6 separate regions of the Homo sapiens genome follow, and regions 1, 2, 3, 5 and 6 are each linked to region 4. Evidence: promoter capture Hi-C in 16 types of primary human blood cells and fetal thymus (Javierre and others, 2016). All regions are on one chromosome and are shown on one strand. Each heading gives the region's core, a stretch centred on a gene start or on the middle of the fragment in contact. The rest is flanking DNA. Distances are from core to core; before and after follow the strand shown. Region 1 overlaps UBE2W (ubiquitin conjugating enzyme E2 W). Region 2 has its middle 68 kb from the start of LY96. Region 3 overlaps TMEM70 (transmembrane protein 70). Region 4 holds the start of GDAP1 (ganglioside induced differentiation associated protein 1). Region 5 overlaps ELOC (elongin C). Region 6 holds the start of UBE2W (ubiquitin conjugating enzyme E2 W).

The links. The method cuts DNA at HindIII sites, captures the fragments that hold promoters and counts their contacts. A CHiCAGO score of 5 or more calls a contact.
Region 1: a fragment that was not itself captured here is called in contact with the fragment with the promoter of GDAP1 in region 4 in 1 of 17 cell types (fetal thymus); the score reaches 5.8 in fetal thymus.
Region 2: a fragment that was not itself captured here is called in contact with the fragment with the promoter of GDAP1 in region 4 in 2 of 17 cell types (M2 macrophages and fetal thymus); the score reaches 5.6 in M2 macrophages.
Region 3: a fragment that was not itself captured here is called in contact with the fragment with the promoter of GDAP1 in region 4 in 1 of 17 cell types (fetal thymus); the score reaches 7.6 in fetal thymus.
Region 5: a fragment that was not itself captured here is called in contact with the fragment with the promoter of GDAP1 in region 4 in 1 of 17 cell types (fetal thymus); the score reaches 5.4 in fetal thymus.
Region 6: the fragment with the promoter of UBE2W here is called in contact with the fragment with the promoter of GDAP1 in region 4 in 11 of 17 cell types (fetal thymus, total CD4 T cells, naive CD8 T cells and 8 more); the score reaches 17.3 in fetal thymus.

Annotation. Positions count from the first base shown.
Region 1 is chr8:73,856,617-73,859,617 of GRCh38, forward strand. All of the region lies in intron 1 of UBE2W (ubiquitin conjugating enzyme E2 W), which reads right to left. Among named protein-coding and RNA genes, the nearest start is that of UBE2W, 21 kb to the right of the region's middle. The HindIII fragment of the contact is 4,198 bases long and covers 1-3,001 here.
Region 2 is chr8:74,057,455-74,060,615 of GRCh38, forward strand. It overlaps a transcript of LY96 not described here. Among named protein-coding and RNA genes, the nearest start is that of LY96, 68 kb to the left of the region's middle. The HindIII fragment of the contact is 7,541 bases long and covers 1-3,161 here.
Region 3 is chr8:73,979,944-73,982,776 of GRCh38, forward strand. It overlaps TMEM70 (transmembrane protein 70), which reads left to right. Exons shown (of 3, transcript NM_017866.6): 3 at 1,212-2,833. The coding sequence ends at 1,678. It also overlaps the pseudogene RPS20P21. Among named protein-coding and RNA genes, the nearest start is that of TMEM70, 5.2 kb to the left of the region's middle. The HindIII fragment of the contact is 450 bases long and covers 1,343-1,792 here.
Region 4 is chr8:74,349,017-74,351,882 of GRCh38, forward strand. GDAP1 (ganglioside induced differentiation associated protein 1) reads left to right here and starts at 1,387. Exons shown (of 6, transcript NM_018972.4): 1 at 1,387-1,562; 2 at 2,258-2,450. The coding sequence starts at 1,446. RefSeq lists an enhancer at 1,400-1,629. The HindIII fragment of the contact is 8,708 bases long and covers 1-2,217 here.
Region 5 is chr8:73,961,764-73,964,630 of GRCh38, forward strand. All of the region lies in intron 1 of ELOC (elongin C), which reads right to left. Among named protein-coding and RNA genes, the nearest start is that of ELOC, 9.0 kb to the right of the region's middle. The HindIII fragment of the contact is 886 bases long and covers 841-1,726 here.
Region 6 is chr8:73,877,361-73,880,306 of GRCh38, forward strand. UBE2W (ubiquitin conjugating enzyme E2 W) reads right to left here and starts at 1,502. Exons shown (of 6, transcript NM_018299.6): 1 at 1,448-1,502. The coding sequence starts at 1,462. It overlaps LINC01617 (long intergenic non-protein coding RNA 1617), which reads left to right and starts at 1,622. Exons shown (of 3, transcript NR_147034.1): 1 at 1,622-2,946. RefSeq lists enhancers at 185-234, 711-1,588 and silencers at 975-1,234, 1,255-1,304, 1,445-1,734. The HindIII fragment of the contact is 3,471 bases long and covers 1-2,501 here.

The sequences.
Region 1 (3,001 bases), core at 148-2,647, 490 kb before region 4:
AATGCTGAGATTACAGGCATGAGCCACTGTGTCTGGCCACACTTATGCATTTCTAAGCACTCTTTACACAGAAGATTTCCATCAGCAGGAATAAATTTTTTTTTTTTGAGACAGGGTGTTGCTCTATTGTCCAGACTGGAGTGCAGTGGTGTGATCTCGGCTCACTGCAGCCTCCGCCTCCTGGGTTCAAGCCATTCTTGTGCCTCAGCCTCCCAAGTAGCTGGGACTATTGGCATGTGCCACCACACCTGGCTAATTTTTTGTATTTTTAGTAGAAAGGGGGTTTTGCTATGTTGGCCAGACTGGTCTCAAACTCCTGGTCTCAAGTGATCCGCCCACCTTGGCCTCCCAAAGTGCTGAGATTATAGACGTGAGCCACCATGCCCAGCCTAAAATCTTAAAATGAACCGCTAACTTTATGGTTCCAGGGTAGTTACTTTGTCAAGCCCAAATACACACATAATAACAAGACAGTTTGGGAAACTTTTTAATTCAAGGAAGAAAGTGATTTGTTTTCTTCTTTATCATGCTCAGGTATACTATACTGTGATTTTAGGGATTTTACCAATACTTTCTCCTGACATACTAGGTGGAAACTTGTATATGCTGGTCAGAGTCATCAACAAGTAGGAAAAAAAAAATCACATTTAATTCTTACAGGAAGATTTTCTAAGCTGAAAAATACAGCAAAAATGTTTAAACCCTGGCACTTAAGGTAGATAGCAAACTAAAGTATCTCATACATAGAGAACTGACCAAAATAAAAATACCAACTTTTTTCACTACAATAGTTTCAATGTATGTGTTCTAAAATATAATAATGTATTATAAAAGATTGCAAGTATGTAAGAGTATGTAAGATCAGTATTTTGATAAAGAGCAAGTTCAATCTTCTAAGCCTTCTTAAAAACAACTTTTGGGCCAGGCGCAGTGGCTCACACCTGTAATCCCAGCACTTTGTGAGGCCGAGATGGGCAGATCACAAGGTCAGGAGTTCGAGACCAGCCTGGCCAATATAGTGAAATCCTGTCGCTACTAAAAATACAAAAATTAGCCAGGTATGGTGGCAGACGCCTGTAGTCCCAGCTACTCAGGAAGCTGAGGCAGGAAAACTGCTTGAACCCGGGAGGTGGAGGTTGCAGTGAGCCGAAATCGCGCCACTGCACTCCAGCCTGGGTGACAGAGTGAGACTCCCCGTCTTAAAAAATAATGATAAATAAAAATAAAAATAAAAAAACCTTTTGCTTCAAAGTTTACATAAACTTGGGCCTCAGTTGCCAAAAGTAGCCATAGAATGATTCTGAGATTTTCAGAATACCTTTAAGCGGCTGGGCATGGTGGCTCACGTCTGTAATCTCACCACTTTGGAAGGCTAAGGCAGGCGGATCACCTGAGGTCAGGTGATTGAGACTAGCATGGCCAACATAGTGAAACCCCATCTCTACTAAAAATCCAAAAGTTAGGCAAGGCATGGTGGCTCACGCCTGTAATCCCAGCACTTTGGGAGGCCGAGGTGGGTGGATCACCTGAGGTCAGGGGTTCAAGACCAGCCTGGCCAACATGGTGAAACCCAGTCTCCAATAAAAATACAAAAATTAGTCGGGTGTGGTGGTGCACACCTACAGTTCCAGCTACTTAGGAGGCTGAGGCAGGAGAACTGCTTGAACCTGGGAGGCGGAGGCTGCAGTGAGCCGAGATTATGTCATTGCACTCCAGCCTGGGTGACAGAGCAAGACTTCATCTCAAAAAAAAAAAAAAAAAAAGAACATAAAATATATTTATGACAAGTTTCATTCTAAGAAGGAATTAAGAAATATGAAAAGTACAAATACTGACTTATAAAATCAGTTTTGACATCCTACGTTGCCAATTCAAGAAATTATCAGTTTAACTTTCAATCATTTTCAATTATTAAAACTACAGCAGCTGAATTTTTAAAAATTCAGTATATTAACTGTTGCCAGTTCATGAAGATTTAAAATAATTTAAAAATATATTTTTAAAAGAAAAGTCTGACTTCAGTCATAAGCAGACACCAAAAAAAAAGTCAATGTTAGAAAAAGTGCTAAAAAAAAAAAAAAAAAAGCAGCAGCTAGTACCTTTTAACACTATTTTTACTATTTAGGATCATGGGTAGTCCTTTCCAAGCCATCACCATTAACTGTCTTAACTTTCTGTTACTTGTACTTATTTTCATCACGAACTTGCAAGGCTTGCAAGGACTGAACCAACCTTCTCTATCATTAGGGGGGTTTTTGCGTGCGTGTGTGTGTGTGTGTGTGTGTGTGTGTGTTGGTTTTTTTGCTTTCTTTTTGGTGAGTCTTCTAAACTGAGCAATTTCTTCAAGCACAGGGGGTTTTTGCGTGTGTGTGTGTGTGTGTGTGTGTGTGTGTGTGTGTGTGGTGGTTTTTTTGCTTTCTTTTTGGTGAGAGTCTTCTAAACTGAGCAATTTCTTCAAGCACAGCTGACCCTCAACAACACAGGTTTGAACTGCACAGGTCCACTTATACATGGATTTTCTTCTGCCTTTGTCACTCCTGAGACAGCAAGACCAAACCCTCCTCTTCCTCTTCTCAGTCTATAACAAGGATAAAGATTTTTGTGACTAGCTGGGAATGGTGGCTCACGCCTGTAATCCCAGCACTTTGGGAGGCTGAGGCAGGGGGACCACTTGAAGCCCGGAGTTTGAGACCACCCTGGCCAACATGGTGAAACCTCATCTCTACTAAAAATACAAAAATTAGCTGGGCATGGTGGCGCGAGCCTGTAATCCCAGCTACTGGGGAGGCTGAAGCAGGAGAATCACTTGAACCCAGGAGGTGGAGGCTGCAGTGAGCTGAGATTGCGCCACTGCACTCCAGCCTGGGTGACAGAGTACTTAATGAATAGTAAATATATTTTCGCTCATGATTTTCTTAATAACATTTTTTCTCTATCTTACTTTATTGTAAGAATAGAGTATATAATACATATATCACACAAAATATGTGTTAATCAACTG
Region 2 (3,161 bases), core at 471-2,970, 290 kb before region 4:
TAACTGGAAGGTCATTTAAATTTGATTCTTTTCTCACTTTTAGAAAAAGAATATGCTGACTCCCTTATTCTAAGACAGCTCTCAGAGGCTCTTCAAACACAGCCATGTCTCATGTAGGTGACTCACATTTCTGAGGAACTCTGGAATAGGCCCAATTTCACTGTCCCCTGCCACACAGAAATCATGATTGTTGGGGCATATCTTCACACTCCCACTTAGGTTTCTCTCATCCTGCTAAGGCTTCCTTTAGGTCATTGATATGTATCAGTTTTAATTTGAGTGGTCTGAACTCACTAAAATGGCGACTTGGTAGCCAGGCTCACACCTGCAATTTTACTCTAACAGCTTAATTTCCTTACCTTACGTTTTATTCTCTGTTAAAGTAATCCAGGGGATGAGGTGTTAGCATAAGTTATGCTTCAGTATAAAAATGCGGAATAGAAGGGATAGAAAAGGGCAGTGAACATCTGTGGAGTAGAAAAGGGTTCCAGCTAGAGGTGAAAGCATGCATTCACTTTCTGGGATCCAGCCTGCCGTGATTACCTTCTTAGGCCTTCAATACTTCGTGAGCCTAAGGGCAGCTAGTAGTCCTGTTTGAAGAGGATACTTCTCCAGGTCTAGGCTTGAACAAATATGCCTGGGAGACTCCTATGACTCTAGCATATTAGATAGATGCTCCAAGAAACACTAGGACAGACTTTCTTTTGATTTCTTGTAAGGGTGAAAAAAAAAAACTAAAATATTACAACACAGATTATGCTGAACACATTCCCATTATCTTCCAGAGTGGTCTATTAAAATGCATTTCCATTTTATTTTCTTCATGATAGTTTTAATTATATTAAGCTGATCCAGAGGAAACTTCTGGATTATAACTTTAATTTCTACCTTAAACCTAAACTTTCTGCTACTCATGAACTTTAGCTTTTGAAAATATCATCCACTGCAAAACCTTTATGGAGAAAAATTTAAGTTTACTAGAGAATGTATTAGTCAGGGTTCTCCAGAGAAACAGAAGCAAAAGGATACTTACATATCTACACCTATCTATCTATCTAGAAAGTTTTTCTTTTTTTTTTTTTTTGGATGGAGTCTTGCTTTGTCACCCAAGCTGGAAGGCAGTGGCGCAATCTCGGCTCACTGCAACCTCCACCTCCTGGTTTCTAGCGATTCTCCTGCCTCAGCCTCCAGAGTAGCTGGGATTAAAGGCATGTGCCATGACGCTGGGCTAATTCTTGTATTTTAAGTAGAGATGGGGTTTCATCATGTTGGCCAGGCTGGTCTTGAACTCCTGACCTCAGGAGATCCACCCGCCTCAGCTTCCCAAAGTCCTGGGATTACAGGCATGAGCTACTGTGCCCGGCTGAAAGAGATTTATTATAAGATATTGGCTCATGCAATTATACGGAATGAGAAGTCCCACAGTTTGCTGTCTGCAAGCTGGAGACCTAGGAAAAGCCAGTGACGTAGTTCAAGGCCTGAGAACCAGGAGTGCCAAGGGCAGGAATTGATGTTTCAGCTCAAGCAGTCAAGCAGAGAGAGGATAATCCAAACTTCCTCCACCTTCTTGTTCTATTTAGGCCTTCCACGGATTGAATGATGTCCACCCACATTGGGGAAGGCCATCATCTTTACTCAGTCCACCAATTCGAGTACTAACCTCTTCTGGAAACACCCTCATAGACACACCCAGCAATAGTGTTTAATCAGATATCTGAGCATACTGTGGCCCAGGCAAATTGGTACATAAAATTAACTATCACAAAGGACACGAAAGAACAGCTGAAGAAATGAAGAAATCTAACATATTTATGGAAGCAAATGCTTGATAGAAAGATGTGAATTCTCCATAAATTAAATTATGAATTTAATGCAGTTCTAATAAAAATCCCAACATTATTGTGTGGAACTTAACAAACAGATTCTAAGAACTTCTAGCCAAGACATTCTAAAAAAGAAGCAGGAGGTGGGGATTTCTCTATCAGATATAAAGACATTTTTAAAAAGTTGTATAAATAAAACTGTACTACTGACACAGAATAGATAATTAGATCTGGGAACAGATTATATTTATAGGGACTTTCCATATACCCGTTGGAAAAGGGTAAATTCAATAAATGGCATTGCCAAAATTCACCTTCCTTATGGAAAAAAAATAAAATGAAATGTCTAATTCACATTTTTGAGTAGTTAAATTTCCAAAAAAGTTAAATTTCAAATGGATTACAGGTCTAAATGTGAAAAGCAAAACTTCAAAACTATTATAAGAAAATCTACTTAAAACTATTAGGAGAACAGCTTTATGATCTCAGGGCAAAATATTAGGCAAACAAGACACAAACAACAAAAGTATGAAATAAAAAAAGAGATAAATTTTGTTACATCCAAAACTTCAAACTTTGCTTGGGCGCAGTGGCTCAGGCCTGTAATCCCAGCACTTTGGGAGGCTGAGGTAGGTGGTAGCACTTGAGCTCAGGAATTTGAGACCAGCCTGGGCAACGTGGTGAAACCTTGTCTCTACTAAAAATACAAAAATTAGCTGTGCGTGGTGGTGTGCACGAGTGGTCCCAGCTACTCAGGGGGCTGAGGTGAGAGCCCAGGGGGCTGAGGTGAGCCCAGGAGGCAGAGGTTGCAGTGAGCCAGGATCATGCCACTGCACTCTACCCTGGGAGGGAGAGCCAGACCTTGTTTCAAACAACAACAACGACGACGACGACGACGACGACAACGAAAAACTTCCAACTCTTATTGTCAAAAGAAAAAAATACCATTAACAAAGATAAAAGTTAAGTGTCTGTCTGAGAGGTGTTTTCAGTTATAACAAACAATTGATATCCAGAAAATGTTTTCTTAAAATTTTATAAATCAATTAGCAAAGTTAAAAAAATCTAATGGGATAGGCAATAGGCCATTCTTAGCCTTCAGGTCTTGGCTTAAAATTCACTACCTATCGGAACCCTGACTTTCAGTCGGGGTAATTATATCACAATACTTTTCACTCTTAAATCATTTTTCCTTGTTGAACACCTAGACAGTGAACTCCTAGAGAGGAGGAAACAAATCTGAGGTGTTTTTTCTCTCCACTTTTGAGTCTCAGCTTCTTGCACATAATAGGTGTTCGATAAATATATGTCGAAAGACTGATGGAGTAAATGAATAAA
Region 3 (2,833 bases), core at 318-2,817, 370 kb before region 4:
ACTGGTCTCAAGCAGTCCTTCTGCCTACACCTTCCAAAGTGCTGAGATTACAGGCATGAGCCACTGCACTCTGCTAGAAGTCATTTATTTTTAATCTTTCTAAGGTAATAGGTAAAAATGGTATCTCAGTGTTTTTTTTGTATTTTTTATTATTTATTTATTGAGACGGAGTTTTGCTCTTGTTGCCCAGGCTGGAGTGCAGTGGCACAATCTGGGCTCACTGCAACCTCCACCTCCCAGGTTCAAGCAATTCTCCTGCCTCAGCACCCCCAGTAGCTGGGATTATAGGTGCATGCCACCAAGCCTGGCTAATTTTTGTATTTTTAGTAGAGACAGGATTTCGCCATGCTGGCCAGGCTGCTTATCTCATTGTTTTAACTTGAATGTCTTTCCTTACTAAAGAAATTGAATACCTTTCCCATATGTTTCTGTTTTTTTTTTTTGAGATGGAGTCTCGCTTTGTCTCCCAAGCTGGAGTGCAGTGTGCAGTCTTGGCTCACTGCAGCCTCTACCTCCTGGGTTCAAGGATTTTCCTGCCTCAGCCTCCTGAATAGCTGGGATTACAAGCACTTGCCACCATGCCCAGCTAATTTTTGTATTGTTAGTAGAGATGGGAGTTTCACCATGTTGGCCAGGCTGGTCTCGAACTCCTAACCTCAAATGACCCACCTGCCTCAGCCTCCCAAAGTGCTGGGATTACAGGCATGAGCCAATGCGCCTGGCCGTCCGATATGTTTTTTAACCACTGGTTTTATTTCTCTGGTGATTTGCTGTTTTAATCCTGGGCACTTAGCCTGATAGAATTTCCCATGTTTGAATATTTTATGTTAGATATACTGGAGTGCTTGTTAATAGAGAGTTTTGTTTGATAATCTGCTATCTGAATCAACTTTTGTAGTACAATATTAGTAAGGATCTTTAAGTAATATTAACTACTTTATTGTGGAACTGAGGTAGGGCCACTTAAACCCTAAAGCAGATTTCCTGCCTGGAGAGGCAGTGCATTCTAATGGTCAGTAGCAGGGACATTGAAGTCAAAATATGTAAAGTCCTTAAAACAGAGCTTAGAATATAATAAGCACTGTATTTATGGTTTGATTTTGTTGTCTTGAGCTGATACAGTAAGAAGAAAAATGGAAGAATTAGTGGGATAGATTGATTCTTTTATAAAATTTAAAAGTATTGATCCTCTCTCTTTTTTTCCCATTTAGGTGTGAAATGTTTCTCTTATTCTACGAGTCTGATTGGCCTTACATTTCTGCCATACATTTTTACACAAAATAATGCTATTTCTGAAAGTGTGCCTCTGCCTATTCAAATCATATTCTATGGCATCATGGGAAGCTTTACGGTGATCACCCCAGTGCTGCTTCACTTTATTACAAAAGGCTATGTCATTCGATTGTACCATGAGGCCACAACAGACACTTATAAAGCCATTACCTACAATGCTATGCTTGCAGAAACGAGTACAGTGTTTCACCAGAATGATGTGAAGATTCCAGATGCTAAACATGTATTTACCACATTTTATGCTAAAACAAAATCACTGTTAGTTAATCCAGTGCTCTTTCCAAACCGTGAAGACTATATCCATCTAATGGGTTATGACAAAGAAGAATTTATTTTGTATATGGAAGAAACCAGTGAAGAGAAACGGCATAAAGATGACAAATGAGCCTATTTGTTAGTGTTCGTGCTCAAATGTGATTTACGTTTTAATGTATAATAATAAAATTGCCTTTTGCATTCCGTTAGTGACTGATTGTTAAAAATAATTTGAAATTATCAAAGCTTTTAATTTCCAGAGAATGATGTTTGTTTATAATAAAACAAGCTATGTTTGAAAACCAAAATGTAGTATCTACCATTCGTGTTTTAGAAAGGTATGTGAATAAATATGTTCATGCTAGTATAAGAGTTCTGTGTTACTGTGGTTGACTCTAAACTGGGGATCTGATGTCAGTAGCAAATGGGAGAGTTGCTTTATTCTTTGTGTATGGATTTTTCTAAGTGTATAAATATTTTCCGACATTAAAAGACATTTTCTCTTTGAGGAAGACACAGTCATAGGTGGTGCGGAGCTGTGGTCCACCTGCTCCTGCTCCTGACTCACTGCTCTTTGCTGTTGCCTGAGGACCAAGTCTGTCAGGAAGCTGGCTAGGAAGCCTTGCAGCAGCCATGGCTTTTAAACATACCAGAAAAACACCCGTGGAGTCAGAGGTGGCAATTCACCGAATTCATATCACTCTAACGAGTTGCAACGTAAAATCCCTGGATAAGGTGTGTGCTGACTTGATCTGAGGAGCAAAGGAAAAGAATCAGTGAAAGGACCAGTTTGAATGCCTACCAAGACTTTGAGAATCACTACAAGAAAAACTTACGGTGAAGGTTCTAAGGCATGGGATCGTTTCCAGATGAGAATCCACAAGCGACTCATTGACTTGCGCAGTCCTCAGATAGTTAAGCAGATTACTTCCATCAGTATTGAGCCAGGAGTTGAGATGGAAGTCACCATTGCAAATGCTTAAGTCAACTGTTTTCATAAATTGATTACCAGTTGTTAAAAAATTTTCAAAAAACCGCAAAATTTCAAGAAATTCACAAATTATGGGAGCAGTTTTAAGTCTTCTTTGGTTCAGAACACAGGTTTTTGCCTAACCCCTGGCATGATTGCCCATAAGAACATACATGTACAGTTGAACTGGTGGTTAGCTATACGGGAAATGGTAAGTAGTGTTGTCTTCAGTATCTTAATTTGTTTCTGCAACTGTGCACTCCTCCCTTGGTGGCACCCTATGGGTGTAGGAAAACCACTGTTATTAAACAGGTG
Region 4 (2,866 bases), core at 137-2,636:
ACTCTTAAGTGTGAACTGATAAAAACAATTTTGGCAAGGAATTCACCTTTTCTATAGCACTTGAATTAACTGAAGGATATAAAAGACATTATGAAATCTTAAAAAATTATGAAAGAATTACAGAGAGTAACAAATGAAGTACTGTAAAGGCAAGGAAGAACCTCATGAGATTTTGTCTTTTCCAGGGGCCCTTCTCTGACCTGGGTTGGCTGCCTGCCCCTCCTTTCTCATAGTACTCTGTGTTCACCCTAAGACAGTTCTCATCTTTATTGTGATTGTCTATTTCCTTGGTCGTCTCTACTGCCAGATTATATCTTGAGTGTTAGATATTAGATTTCACACATCTTTATATTACCAGGAGCCAGCACAATGTCTGGAACAGTGTAGGTGCTCAATAAATATTTGCCAGATAAATTATACAGGCATTTATTCTATGGTCATATTTATACATATTACTGAAAGAGATTTTTAAAATCAACTTACTATATGATGCCAAATTTTTAAAGACATACAATAATAACTAGACTAATATAAAATTATGATTCTGACTATGGTTATAACAGAATGTTTATAAGACAACTGAACCTGTGACTAAGACTGAGTGCCTACAACGTGACAGGGTGTTCTGAGTGTTTAACATTTTATTATTAATTTTTCACAAAAATCTTATGAGGGAAACAATAAAATTATTATTCTTACTTAGAAAATGGAAAAACCAGGATATGAACTTAGGCAGTACTGTTGTAGAATTTTTGTGTTTAACAACTAGGCTATTTTATATCGCCATTGTTTATTAGCTGTTTATGACAAAAACAGTTTTTTTGCATGACTCCATAGTGGTATTTTTTTTTCTTTTACAAAGCACAGTTTAATTATCAAAATCAAGTACTTACTGTTTATACAAGACTATTCTCTAATCTACAGCAGTTAGTCAAATTTGTGGAATTAGTCCACTAATGTCATAGTAGCATCTTCTAATGAAAGCTCATAGATCCTTTTCCTGTTGCTTTGCTTGTCGACCGGAACTTCCTTTCCAACAAAGGAACAGGCTCCAAGAGCAACCCTCAGTATCTTGGGAAATTGCTGCTTTTATACCTGAGCAACCTCCAAACCGAAGAGTAATTTGCTATCATCATTCTTCCTTACTGCCCTTCATAACCAGGGTCTCATATTTTTTATTTTTTCTTCTAAAAAAAAAAACAAACCCAAAAAACAACCGTTCAATTGCACCTCCCAGGTGCACTCCCAGGCTTGCCAGGGGCTTTCCAGTCGCAGACCCCGCGTGTTCGCAGACTCTGCCGCCGGCGAAACTACATTTCCCAGCGGGCCGCGCGCCCTCCTTCCGGCAGGTACCCCTCAAAACCCGGAAACGCCTTGCGGGGCAGTGTGGGAGGGAGAAGTCCAGGGCGGACAGGCTGGGCGCACCCGTGCTCGCGCACCCCAAGATGGCTGAGAGGCAGGAAGAGCAGAGAGGGAGCCCGCCCTTGAGGGCGGAAGGCAAGGCCGACGCGGAGGTTAAGCTCATTCTGTACCATTGGACGCATTCCTTCAGCTCTCAAAAGGTACAACAGGCCTTGGCGGCGGAGGGTGGCGCGGATCGGGCTTCAGCACTGGGACAGCTCCTTCTGAGTCCCGCCCAGGGAAGCCGGTCCACCTAGAAATCCGCCTCCAGTGTCCTGACCCCGGGCAGGCGCTCCCTCCAGGCGGGGACGCGCCCGGGTGGGGAGCGGGGAGAATCGATCGGAGATGATCCTATGTGGCTATGGCCCAGGCTCCGCCTCTCGCGAAATGCGACAAAAAAGCATCATTTTCAGTATTTGGTCTGGAGGCCTTGCCTGCTGGTCTTCGGAGAGAGGCAGAGGGAGGTGCCTTTGTGGACCCTCATAATCTGCGATCTCTTCTTTTGCTCTCTCGCATTCACTGTCTTCAGCAAGAGCTGATGTACCTACATGTCAGGTTCTTGTCTGGGGAGGACCCATAATCAGGTTTAGGACACCGAGAAAGTGGTAGTGATGAGGAGGGTGACTGTTTAATGAATACAGTCAGAATCATTTCATTACTTATTTTGTGTTCTTCTCTTAATTTGTTGAGTATTGTTCTTTCCTTACTTGTTAATTCCAGGAATAGGAATTGTTAAAACGACTGTTGAAAATGTCGGTAACACAGGGAAGCCCAGAAAGGCTGCTTAGCGGTGTCCAGGGAAGTCATTTAATTGAAAGCTTACATGTGTTGTAGTAACCAGTGTGAACTCTTCCAGGTGCGCTTGGTAATTGCTGAAAAGGCATTGAAGTGCGAGGAACATGATGTAAGTCTGCCCTTGAGTGAGCACAATGAGCCTTGGTTTATGCGTTTGAACTCAACTGGAGAAGTGCCTGTCCTTATCCACGGGGAAAACATAATTTGTGAGGCCACTCAGATCATTGATTATCTTGAACAGACTTTCCTGGATGGTAATGTTAAGGCTACTTGCGATTTCTTGGATTTACTTTCAACACAACTATGTGTTCCCTTTCTCTTTTTCTCTCTCTCCTCTCTCTCTTTCTCTTGTGTCATGATGGTGGTTTGGGATTAAAAACCTTTTCCATTTCCATAAGCACACAAATATCAAATAGGTCAATAACAAATTTTGTATAGGCTAGTGTAATGCTATTTAAAATAATTTAATGCAAAATACAAATGTTAATGTTGAAACTTAAAAAAATTCACTTGCAAAAAACTGCAAATGTGTGGTTTGTGTTGGTGATTTCTTAGTCTTAAATTCATAATATTCTAAATGTGCACTGTGACGATTTCATCTAATATACCAAATGGTTTCACCTTAAAAACAAGAGGGAAAAAAGAGCAATAAATCTTAAAGGAGAATAGA
Region 5 (2,867 bases), core at 34-2,533, 390 kb before region 4:
CAGCCTCCCAAAGTACCATTTCTAATTTGAGATAAAGCAGAGAAAATAGGCAGCACTAACAATTAAATCTGATGAGCCTTTTGCAGGCCTAAGAAGCGGTAAACACTGTACTAAATGCCTTACATACATTATCTTGTTTATTTATTTTTTGAGACAGAGTCTCACTCTTTGGCCCAGGCTGGAGTGCAGTGGCGTGATCTTGGCTCACTGCAACCTCTGCCTTCCAGGTTCAAACGATTCTTGTGCCTCAGCCTCCCGAGTAGCTGGGACTACAGGTGCATGGGACCATGTCCAGCTAATTTTTGTATTTTCAGTAGAGACGGGGTTTCACCATGTTGGCCAGGCTGGTCTTGAGCTCCTGACCTCAAGTGATCCACCCAACTCAGCCTCCCAAAGTGCTGGGAGTACAGGTGTGAGCCACTGTGCCTGGCCTATCTTATTTAAAAACAACTCTTCCACAAGGGAATTATTCTGATTTTAGAGATGAGAAACACTGGAAGAGTCTGCTACTTGTTGAAGGCTTCTACAGCTTAAGTGGCAGCGTTAGGATTTAAACCTAGGTAGGTCTGACTTCACAGCCCACATTCCACTCCTTCCATTATTGCCTACTACCACAGTAAAAAATTCTGGCTCCAGTTAAACTTAATTGCCACAATTCCCAACAGCTACTGATGTAAATCCTCAAATAGTTCTCTAAAATTTAAAAATAGTACTGTCATTTTATGATACTACGCAATTTAAAAATTCATGAGAGCCATTATTATTTTCTTTTCATTATACTGCTTTGTAAATACTCTTTTAAAAAACAAAACAAAAAAAAAAACAAAACAAATGCGAGAAAGCTTGAAGTACAAGAATTTCAAGGGCCAACTCTTTTATCTGGAAAATCCCTAGAATAAAACATTTAGGATGTTTATCTAACTAGCAGTAGCTAAGCAACAATGCAAAGTCACATCTTAGGAGCCCTTTGGGTAGCAACAGTTTCTCTACAGAGTTAATGTAGTAAATCAATTCCATCATTTTATACAACAGAGATTAAGGAGAGAAGAGGAGACCCACCCTTTCTCCCACCTTTGAAAGGGAAAATCAACATTAAGAGTTAAAATTCCTAATTCTTAGGTAGAAGTTAGAAATATTTAAAATATGATTCAGTTTGGACCCAATCCATAAGTTATCTAAAGAAATATAAGTTTGAGGAGACAAAAATTTCAGCTTGAACATGTATTCCATCACAGAGCTGAATTCTGGAAATATGAATTGGGCAGGTAAAAGCCACTCGTAGGGGAACCGCTGGATTGAGAATAGTTCTAGGCAGAAGAAAGAGCATGAACAATGGCCTGAGACGTCATTATGCTTTTAAGGTGTTACATATAAATATTAATCTCTTAAAGTTTTTTTGTGTATGTTTGTGTTTAATAACAAATACTTAAAAAATCTAGGTGAGCCTAGGGCCTACACTGAAATTAAGTGTTGAATCTAGTATCAGTGAATATTTATAAGATATTTGAATAGCTTATCCTTTGATTTGAAATATTACCTTTATCATATTCTATATTGCTACATGAAATTCTAGACTATATTCTGTACAGGAATAGTTGGGTAAGTCTCCATTTTGTTCTCACATGTTTCTTGTTAGGTCTACTTTTAGGTACTTTTAAGTTTCCATTATGAATGGGGTCTGTTTTACTATGATATTTTCTGAAAGGCTATTGCTCGTGTTGTTAAAAGCTTTAAAATGTCCTAAGTTGATTTTGCATCCCGTCATTTTTTTTGCAGAACTCATATAAGTTTTAATAGTTTTTCAGTTGACTTACTTGAATTACCTAAGTAGATAACAGACACTGCTGCAAAATCTGTTCTTCATATCTTTTTGTCTTTTTACATTGGCTATTTACTTGGATAAAATAAGGTTAGAACAGATCACTCACAAAAATACACTACAGATTAAAGAGCCAAATGTAAAATATCCATAAAAATCCATGAACTCTGGAAAAATAGCAGAAAAAAGAATACAACTAGCTTAGACAGGTATAAAAATGCTTGATGGGGCTGGGTGTGATGGCTCACGCCTATAATCCCAGCACTTTGGGAGGCCGAAGGGGGTGGATCACCTGAGGTCAGGAGTTCGAGACTAGCCTGACCAACATGGTGAAACCCCGTCTCCACGAAAAATACAATAATTAGCTGGGTGTAGTAGTGGGTGCCTGTAATCCCAGCTACTCGGGAGGCTGAGGCAGGAGAATGGCTTGAACCCAGGAGGCGGAGGTTGCAGTGAGCCAAGACTGCGCCACTGCACTCCAGCCTGGGCGATAAGAGTGAAATTCCGTCTCAAAAAAAAAAAAAAAAAAAAGTATTACATATAGTAGTGTGGATTGCAACAGGTAATCACAGTATGTTAAGTGGTCCCTGGATAGTGAATGATGGTTCTCTGTAGTTTATATTTTGGTGGGCTACAGTTGTTTCATATCAACTTATAAATGGCCAAAAAAAAAAAAAAAAAAGATAAGCACAGATTTCCTGAATCCTTATATGGAAAAGTGAGTCAAAGGTCAAAGCGTATGGTGAGAAAGGACAGTCTCTTCAACAAAGGAAGCTGGAACAATATCCATATGGATAAGAAGCTCACTGTTAAACCATACACAAAAATCAATTTCAGATGGTTCACAGAATTCAACTTAAAATGCAAAATAAGGCTACTAGAAGAAAACAAATTATTTTCATACCCTCACTGTAGGCAAAGATTTCTCAGCAGCCAGGTGCAGTGGCTCACACCTGCAATCGCAACACTTTGGGAGGGAGATCACTTGAGGTCAGGAATTTGAGACCAGCCGGGCACTCCAGCCTGGGCCACACAGCAAGACTCTGTC
Region 6 (2,946 bases), core at 252-2,751, 470 kb before region 4:
ACCATTCGTGATATCTCTTCAACTAGAAATGTTACATAAAACTTTTCTGTTCTGCAGGCAAGTCCAGAGGGAGAAGCAAGGTAAAGAGAATATTGTAAGGAAAACAGGTTGAAAGGGGAATAACATAAAAGCACAGGAGTAAATGTGAAGCAAAGCTATATTTGTACAAAAGAGGAAGAAGATGCAGAAAAGGGAAGAAAAACACTTTTAGCAGAGTAAAGAAAAAAAAATGGAGGAGGAACAGAGACTTGCTTCTTCCAGAAACAAAAGCAAAAAACACTTCTAAGAAAATGTGGTCTCTTTACCCAAGGGGATATTATGAAAACGCTAAAGGGTACTCAGCTGACACTCCTATTGAGCGTTCTACTTTCTCTTCCAATGCCTTTGATACCGCTAGTCTTCACCTGTGAATTAAATGCAGGCTACAGATAACGCACTCAATCCCTGCACAACTACAATTGTGGTTGCCATCTTTGCCTGGAAACAAAAAACAAAAAAACCCACAACTCCCTAGATTCGGGAAAAAGGAGTAAATTAAGTTGGAAAGCCAGAAAACCACGCCTTGCTAAGTCGGGGGGATATGGCACAGGTTAACAAACGCCTCCTACCAAACTAAGGTTCCACTAAAGGTCTGGGAATAAGGGCAAAGAGATGTATAGCCTTATCGCGACCGCAAGGGTGGGGCCTTGCAGTGGGAAACAAAATAGAAGGCAAGCTATCCCGAGAGGTTTAAGGGGGCTGAGGACTCGGCTCTCGGGAGATCGCCCATCAGGCGGTGGACACGGGGCAGCTTCGAGAGGAAGGAGACAGTGGACTGCTGGAGGAATGTCCGCGAGAATACCGAGGCTGATGGAAATAGAAGATACCCACGGGCACAGGATTAAGAGTCAAAGGGAAGAAGAGAGGGACGGGGCCGAGCAGTCTGGGGGGCCCGGCGTGGGAGGCCGGAGCAGAGGCCGCTAAGCGCCGTCCGCAGCCAGCCGCCTTCTCCGGAGACGCATTCTCGGCTCCCGCACACTCAGCCCCCCGCCGCCCCTGCCCCGGCAACAACCGCGGGCGCAGCTGTTTCCGTCGGGCCAGGGACAGCGGGGGTAAAGGCAACCCTGGGGCTGGCGGGCAGCAGACTGGCAGCGCCCGTGTGTGTGTGCGGGGAGCCGATTCTGAGACCGCCAACGCCAGACTTTGCCCTTTCTTCCCCAACCCTCCTTTATCACCCAACTTCCCGGCCGGCTGGTGTCCGCTTCGACCGACGGATACCGCACCCCCCACAACGCCTCTCGCCGCCTCTTACCCCTCCCCCGACGCCCTGAGCTGAGGGAAAACAGGCCACCCGGACCGATCCCGAACCCGCCCGGGTGTCCCCGAATCGCGGACGCCACCCCCGCCCGAACGCTGGCACTCTCTCGGCGGCTCCCTGGCCCGCCCAGATGCAGCAAACTCCTCTCACCTGCATTGACGCCATGATGGAACCATCCCCCCAAGACCGGCGAGGCCAGAGACGCAGGGGGAGGAGCTGCCGTGCTCGCGTCACGCCGCGGGGGCTCAACATCCCGGGCGCGGGGGCGGGGTCTGCGATGGGAAGGGGATGGAGCGAGGGGATTGGCTGGCGCGCAGGGCGGACGGGAGGAGGGGCTACGGGGCGGGGCGAGGGCGCGGTAAATGGCGCTCTGAGTACTTTCTGTCTCAGTCCGGCTGGCCGCTCACGCGTCGGGCCCCCATTTACTCTCGTTACTGAGGAGACACGGCTCCAGTTTTGACCCGACTACGGTTGTTTTCTTCGTGTGTACCGCGAAATGCTGATGACGTCCGGTTCCGCGCAGTTTTTTTCCTATTTCGTTTCCAACCACAGTTGTGCGGTTCACAGATTTTTCCCTTGGGATGTGTTTTCCATACCTCCAAGCCCACTCTCAGAGCCTTGGGGCCCCATAAAACTTCATGCGCAGCTGCTTTCTGGTATTTGCAGACCTGGAAGGCTTCTCGTATTCTTAATTTGGGGAAGAGAGACATAGGTTTCCTTGTACAACGGGATGAGGATTTAAGAGCAGAACGACACTGATATTTTAAAGGCGAGGGTATTTAGATTTGTGGAGCTGAAACTTGCCTGAAAAGGGAGACAAAATTTGGAAGTTTGTTGTGTGCAGTTTCTGCCCCTTACCCCCGCCCTTCACTTTTAAACTGCGCATATATCAACAATAGTTACGGTTGTTGCAGCAGTCTAAATTTGATTATCAGAATTGACCCTAGGCATGAATTTTTTTTTAAATATACCAATGTCGTGTTATATACACTTATACCATTATGTCCAGACTTCTCTTAAGCATAGTTCGTGGTGGGCAGTTTTGTGGTCATTTAGGGATGAACTTGGGTAGGGAAAGCTGAGCATACATAATTTATTTTAGGAATGCACCAGTTCTGCCAACATTTATCAGAAGTCACGTTTTTAAAAAGCTATTCTGGAACTGAAGATGTCATTGGTTTATAAGAGGAAAATGGAAGCCAAAAGCTTACACCTCATGCTCTATCTTTAAAAATTAAGGTGGCAGACACAATGAGTAGAAGGCTTTTATGTTACCAGAATGAAGGCTTAAAATCTGTCATTTTATTGACTCGGCTTTCTTTTTAGAAATTTCTTTAAGATATAAAAGCAATGTGGAATATCACTCTTTCACACTCTTAAAATAGATTACGTTCTCTGGAACTTCTCTAATCTGAAATGTGTTCAAAAAGGAAAAAGATCTTTAAAATACGCCAGTTAGTCTATGGTATAATATTAAACACTATTCATCACTAGAGAAGTTATGGTGGTATACCCTCCCCTTTCTCAGATGTCCACCTTAATGCCAGAAATGAGCGGAGTTTCCCTTTGTTGTGCAAAATGACTGTGTCCTTGAGGGATGTTTGGATGCTCTTGGTAAACCGGAATCAGCCAGAAGCATATCCGGTGTT